Linked DNA regions of Homo sapiens: region 2 is linked to region 1. Evidence: promoter capture Hi-C in human tissues and cell types (Jung and others, 2019). All regions are on one chromosome and are shown on one strand. Each heading gives the region's core, a stretch centred on a gene start or on the middle of the fragment in contact. The rest is flanking DNA. Distances are from core to core; before and after follow the strand shown. Region 1 holds the start of PSTPIP2 (proline-serine-threonine phosphatase interacting protein 2). Region 2 overlaps ST8SIA5 (ST8 alpha-N-acetyl-neuraminide alpha-2,8-sialyltransferase 5).

Evidence for each region. Contacts are between HindIII fragments. The study calls those that stand out against the background at their distance.
Region 2: a fragment that was not itself captured here is called in contact with the fragment with the promoter of PSTPIP2 in region 1 in 1 of the 25 tissues and cell types used here (heart left ventricle).

Annotation. Positions count from the first base shown.
Region 1 is chr18:46,070,606-46,074,124 of GRCh38, reverse strand. PSTPIP2 (proline-serine-threonine phosphatase interacting protein 2) reads left to right here and starts at 1,865. Exons shown (of 15, transcript NM_024430.4): 1 at 1,865-1,969. The coding sequence starts at 1,937. RefSeq lists silencers at 1,570-1,729, 1,860-1,909, 1,950-2,329 and enhancers at 1,459-1,960, 3,180-3,239, 3,280-3,379. The HindIII fragment of the contact is 22,245 bases long and covers 1-3,519 here.
Region 2 is chr18:46,687,684-46,691,085 of GRCh38, reverse strand. ST8SIA5 (ST8 alpha-N-acetyl-neuraminide alpha-2,8-sialyltransferase 5) reads left to right here. Exons shown (of 7, transcript NM_013305.6): 4 at 2,167-2,311. Among named protein-coding and RNA genes, the nearest start is that of LOXHD1, 32 kb to the right of the region's middle. The HindIII fragment of the contact is 3,606 bases long and covers 1-3,252 here.

The DNA.
Region 1 (3,519 bases), core at 616-3,115:
GAATTCTTGGAGGGGGCAACATTCAAACCACAGAAGTTAGTAAAATATCCTAAATATGTCCCTTGGATATAGCACACACTTTGTTTGTTTTTTTACTCACAATACCTGCCCCAGAGATGAGCTGTTTGAGGAATGAAGAATATTTTCCAGCAGCGTGGATGACCATTTGCAATTAAAAACTTTGTCACCAGATGGCGGAAGAGGGTTAAAATTCAGGGAGCTTAGAGTCTGAGTCGCGAAAATCAAGCACAATGTACTGTGAGAGCTTGTGAAACGTTCTAATAACTTAAAATTATACATGTATTAAAAATTAAAATGTGACAATTAGAATTGTATCTAAACTATTTTTCCAGAATATTTAAAACTTCCAGGAAAAACCTTAGTGGTGTCTTCAGCTCTCCCGCTTCTATGTCCCCAGTTTGTGCCATTTCTTACCCCCTGCAGTTAAGCCTAGCTTCCTAGTGCCTACCACGTCCTCTGCTGCCCCTTGATGGTTCTGCCAGGCTTCTCTGCCTTCCTTCTAATCTCACTGCTTTCAAAGGATATGAGCAAGTACGTAAATGGATGCATCCCTTGGAGATGCTTGGTGGCTGGAGGCCACCTCTCCATCTTTGCAGTTGTGGATGACTTTATTGGTGGGAGTTCATCTGAGTGGGGCTGGCTGCAGTTTTATGGAGCAGAACTTGTTCCAGGTGCTTCACATAATTCTAGCAATTGCCCTTTCACTGTGTCTGGGTGTAGCTAGAACCTGCTCCAGGGGTGAGTGCTTGCTTCTCCAGGCTGGGCTGGTGCCAGTCTTGGCAACCTTGACCTTTATCCTCCCCACTTTGAGCACCTATTCCTCTGCCCAGGATGGATCTGCCCCAGGAAGGATGTCTGTCTTTGCATCTATTTAGAAGGGCAGAGCTCTAACCTTGAGCTCTTCATCCCTTAAATAAACTGTGATCTTGGGCAAGCCATTCAACCCCTCTGGGCCTCAGGTTGGGCTTCGGGCCTGTCGCACCAGGCAGTACTTTGTCATAAGCCCTGCATTACTATTAAAAGTCATGGCAAAAACCGCAATTACTTTTGTACCAATCTACTACAATGCAGAGAGGGGTCTGACCTGCCCTGGGGTTTTATTTGTGAGGGTGGAAGAGTGGAGGGAGAAGAAGGAATCTTGGGCCCCTCTTGCTGGGGTGGAATGGGCAGGGAAGGGTCTTGCCTTTTGAGAATGGAAAGGGAGTCAGAGAGCGGCTGAGCTCCTGGAAGCCCTGTTAGGACACCACCAAGTGACTAGAGTCAAGGGGAAACAGCAGAGATGACCTCTCCATGACATTTTAGACTAAAACGTGACCCCATTCATTAAAAACACCTGCAACAACAAAAAGTAAAATAAAAAATGAACCGTCCCCCAGGGCCTGATCTGCAGCAGGTGCCGGTGGGGCCCGCCGTGAAGCCAAGGCGTCTGCGGGAGTTGTCGGCCCCAGGCCTTCTGTAGCTTAAACCGGGTCCTCGCGACCATCTGATCAGATCCCGTCTATCACCCCGCAGAGCCTGGATTTCGTGCTGTCCAGGGGGCCTTGTGGGCAGGAACCCAAGCCAGGACCAGTTATTTCCAATACCCAAAGACTTCCAGAAGGAGGCAGCTAGCTTCGGGCTGATATATTGATCGTGGCCCGACGCTGTGGGGCTTTAAATGGGCCTGGGTCCGGGTGCGGGCTGCAGCCCCTGGCCGGGTGAGCGCCGAGGGTCCCGCCCAGGTCTCGCGCAGGGAGCGCAGAGCGCCGACGGCGGCCGTCGCAATCGGGAGTGGTTTAGGACCCGGGGGCGGCTTCCCTGCGCGAGTGTGGAACGCAGAAGTTGAGTCTGCGGAGCCGCGGGCAGTGGCAGTCAGGCCTCCCCGCTCTGTGCTACCTGCGGCCCGGCTCTCCTCCGCGCCCCCACTCGCGCTGCGATGACGCGCTCACTGTTCAAGGGAAACTTTTGGGTAAGTCGTGGGGCCGACAGCGGATCGCGGGGCTCAGGACCCGGCCCGGGCGGGAGGCCAACGCGGCGGGCGTGGGGGGCTCCCCAGCTCCGGCGCCACTCGGTGACCGCGCGCCCGGGGGCTTGGCGGAGCTCGCGCGTGAAGGGATCGGGGCCCCAGCCCCACTGCTCGAGGGGCAGACTTGGAGCGGACGCCGGGCTGCTGTTCCCTCTCTGTCCCCCGCTACCCACCGCGTGCCCGCGAGTCCCGGGGGCTCGGACTCCAGGGCCCACCCTCTGCCGCCCGCGCCCCCAGCAGCGCGTGCTCCTGAGGACGCAGAGAGCCGAGACACCTTAGAGTCAGGACATCAACCCCTCCTCTCACAGGCGAAGCAGAGACCCTTAGGGAGGCGAGACCCGTCCGGGGAGAGTCTCTGCCGGTCCCTGGAGCTGAGCCGTGAGAGGATCTGGGGGGATCTGGTGTGGGGGCTTGTGAGCTTTACCGGGTTGACAGCAGCAGCTGCCCCCCGGGATCGTCCTTTCCAGGAAACGTACAGCATAGAGGGCTTCCCTTTGCTGGAGCTTTCCCTGTTCTACAGCCTTGTTTCCCGAGCCCCCTCCCCAGGCCATTGCCCCAGCCCTTCCGTCCAGGCCCCATAGCGGGGCTGATGGTGTGGGAGACCCTATAAGCTGGAGGGGGTACCCCACCCAGCCCGGTAGGGCCAGCCCAGCCTGGAGGGAGCAGGTCTGCCTGTCCCCCTCCTCTGTCTAGTCCTCTTCCCTCTGTCCTCTCACTCCCCAGGTGCCCCTCAAGGTCCATGCCCCCTCATTCAGAGGAGCTGTCCTCATCCCTTTAAGACAGGAGCAGGAGGCTGCAAACCTCAAAGTTGACCGCAGCTGCCAAGGGGCCCTGACTCCTTACTGGGGCTCCTGCTTGCCTCCCCCCACCACCCACCCAGGTAGCTTCACAGCTGCCTAGATGGTCCCTCTACCCCACGTGGGCTGCAGGGTAGAGAAACCTGGCTGGGGACCTCAGGGACACAGTTGAGACTGTGCCTGTGAGTCCCTTCACTGGAGTTTGTGAGGTCCTTCTGGGGCACTACTCACCCTAGGGTGCAGGGTGGTGGCAGCCTCACAGAGGAACCAAGGGCACCACAGATGGCTCTCACGGGAGGCTTGCGAGTTTTTCAGGTAGAATGGAGGACTGGGGGATCCCATGGCAGGCACTGTGGGAAAAAGGCTCTGTATAATACAAACTGGAGAATGAGATGTGGGCCCCAGAAATAAGGAAGTCAGCAGAGGAACTGGTTCGTGGAGACATAAGGAGAAGGAGGCAGACGTGATACTAACAGTATTTAGTTCAGGCACAGTGGCTCATGCCTGTGATCCCAGCACGTTGGGAGGCCGAGGTAGGAGGATTGCTTGAGGCCAGGAGTTCGAGACCACCCTGGGCAACATAGTGAGACTCTGTCTGTCTCTACAAAAAAATCTTAAAAATTAGCTGGGCATGGTGGTGCATGCCTGTAGATATAGTTACTTGGGAGGCTGAGGCAAGAGGATTGCTTGAGGCCA
Region 2 (3,402 bases), core at 200-2,699, 620 kb before region 1:
AATTGGCCCCTTAGAAATGTTACTGTGCACACTGCACAGAGGTGCCCCTGGGGGCGAGTGAGACCTGACACACTGAGAGTATGGCTGATAAAACACTCAGCCTGGACCAGGTCAGTGAGAGGCAAAAGCCTGTTGTCCAGACTTAGGGCAGAATAGAAGTCTCAGCAGTGGACCAGGCATGGTGGCTCACGTCTATAATCCCAGCACTTTGGGAGGCCAAGGCGGGTGAATCACCTGAGGTCAGGAGTTCAAGATCAGCCTGGCCAACATGGTGAAACCCTGTCTCTACTAAAAATGCAAAGAAATTAGCCAGGTGTGGTGGTGCACACCTGTAATCCTAGCTACTTGGGAGGCTGAGGCAGGAGAATTGCTTGAACCCGGGAGGTGGAGGTTGCAGTGAGTGGAGATCATGCCAATGCACTCCAGCCTGGGCGACAGAGCGAGACTCCATCTCAAAAAAAAAAAAAAAAAAGTCTCAGCAGCAGGACTCACATATCTCAGGAAACATGAAGCAATAGGGAAATGATGTGGCAAGAGAAAAACAGGGATGAGTGTGGGAGCCTTTGGCAGGGACAAGACAGCACAGTGCAGGGGTGGAGCTCTGGGCATGAGGGGTGTGGAGCAGTTTCAGGTGTGAGAAAAGGCAGTGACATCAGGCCTTGCCATGCTCTAAGTGAGAAAACCTTCCAGGCTGGTCATTGCCTCCCTTTGCTCTCATTTCAAGCTCATGGAACAATGATGAGATGCTTCATTCAGGCTGGCAGGAACCTGGTGCCATGAGGGAGTGTCAGGTGGGTGCTAGAAGGCAGGCATGAGCTTTCGAATTACAGGAAATGAATCCTGTAACAGGCCTTCTCCCACCCTGCTGCCTACAAATAGGCACACTGACATTCTGGTTTGTATATCAGTCACTTATGAGCTTGGTTAGTGTGAGTCAGTATCCCTCAATAGGAGTGATCTCCAGTGGGCTGACAAGACTGAGCTTCTGAACTAGCAAAGCTAAAAGGCCCAGATGCCAGTTTGTAATGCCAATCCATGGCCCTGCCTTGCCAGGCCTCTGGTCTCCTCTCTGGGAAGCTTCTGTTACATTCTGAAACCCAGCTCTCCACAGGAAATTCTGCTCTCTGTGACTGGGAGCCAGCTAGGCTTCCCAGTGAAGTACCTGCAAGAGATGAAATTAAAAAAAAAAACATTATAGGCCAGGCATGGTGACTCACACCTGTAATCCCAGCACTTTGGGAGTCTGAGAGGCTGAAGCAGGTGGATCACCTGAGGTTAGGAGTTCGAGACCAGCCTGGCCAACATGGAGAAACCTTGACTCTACTAAAAAAAAAAAAAAAAAAAATTAGCCAGGCATGGTGGTGCTTGCCTGTAATCCCAGCTACTTGGGAGGCTGTGGCAGAAGAATCACTTGAACCCAGGAGGCGAAGATTGCAGTGAGCCGAGATCGCACCATTGAACTCCAACCTGGGTGACAGAGTGAGACCCTGTCTCAAAAAAAAAAAAAAAAAAATCATAAAACATTCCTGGCTTTTGCAAGCTGGAATCACAAATTACAGAGGATTAGAGGTAGAAGAGCCAAGCCTGTATGAGGAAACTAGGGCCCAGAGAGAAAGAGAGAGACCTTCCAGTAGCCTCACAACTGGTCGGGGCAGAGCAGAAGCAAGAATCCAGGCCTCTTGACACCAGGACGGCAGCCCAAGTTTCCATGCCAGGCCTGGCTGGGAGCTCTTTGGAAAGCTCCTCCTTACCCTCTATTAGTGGCCAGGACTCAGGCTCCGTCGAGGAGTTCCATACAGTGCAGACAGGGGCAGCTGGGTGGGGCTTCATGGAAAGAAGCCTGGCCTGGGCCCTGAATGAGTGGCAGAAGGCAGGGGCCTTGGGAGAGGCGTTGAAAAGGGAGGGGACTGCATGAGCAGAGGTGTAGGTTGGGGGCAAGCCTGGGAATGAGTGGGCAGGAGAGGCCTCGGCTCCATGCAGGGTGGGGATGTGTGTGGGATGGGTGGGCAGGAGAGGCCTCGGCTCCATGCAGGGTGGGGGCAAGCGTGGGATAGGTGAGCAGGAGAGGCCTCGGCTCCACCCCTCTGTTCTCCGTGAGGTTGTGCTCTGCCCTCCATCACATCTTTCCTGCATCACGTCTTTCCTGCCTGTCTCCCTGCCTGGCAGGTCTACTCTGTCCAGGTGCTGCAACGCCCCTGCCTTTCTCTTCACCACCCAGAAGAACACTCCCCTGGGGACAAAGCTCAAGTATGAGGTGGACACCAGTGGCATCTACCACATCAACCAGGAGATCTTCCGCATGTTTCCCAAGGTGCTGCTTTGGGCGGGGGCGGTCTGGGTGGGGCGAGGGAGCCAATCCAGCAGTAGCCCTCCGTGGCAATGTCCCTGGGGTTTTGCCTGACTCACTCACGGTCCTCTGGACTCAGTTGTCTTGGTCCTGGTTGACCAGTTGTCTGAGGTGCAGAAGCCCACCCTCTGGATTTCTTTGGGGGTTCTGTCTGAGAACCATGACTGCCAACTGTCTATGATTTGAGTGACTTTTGGCGAGAAAGTGACTAGAAAATTCTGGGTATTGCATTGCTTGCAGAGGATATCCTGCAGATAGGGAGAGAATGACAACACATTCGTCCCCCTCCTGAGGTAGGCACAAGAGCAAACGCACATGCAGAAGTTGTGAGCACAAGAAAGAACAACCCAGTGCAGATCTAGACTCTGAAAGATTCAGCTCACTTGATGACCGTGGGCAGATATTTTGTCTTTCAAAGCCTCAATCTCCTTATTTGTAACACTGGGGCTTGGACTATGAATAGATTTGGCTGATTATAACAGAACTTCTAAAATATCAGAGTCTTAATCAAGATAGATATTTATTTTTTTCCTTTCACATAAAAGAATTCTGGAGGTAGGCTGTGCAGGGCTGGCACGGTGGCTCCCTGGTCATGGAGGACCACAAAATGAATGAGCCGCAGACCTGAATGGTTCAGATCACTGACCTTGGCCATTGAGGACCGCAGTGAGTGAGCTGCAGACGTGAACTGTTCAGATCACTGATGCTGAGCACCTGCAATCACCTGGGCTGACGGTTGGTGCAGACTCACCGCACTACTCTCAGAGAAGGGGCGCTGGAACCTGCGCTTTCAGCCAGTTCTGGCAATTACCCAGGTGTGGTGGCGTATGGACTCTGAAGAGGAGGAAGGTTGCATGGGTGTGTTCATAACCACATTCAGGAGAGCTCTGGGCCCAGGACAGCATTCAGTGAATGTAGTTTATAGAAATTCTGAGTGGGGGCATGTAGAGGTCTTTTTGGAAGAAATCTGAAGGCCTTGGCTGCCTTGCTTCTTGGCTGAGTGCGAAACAAAGCCCAGAGTTCCCTGCATTCTGTGACTGGTACCAAAGTGTATA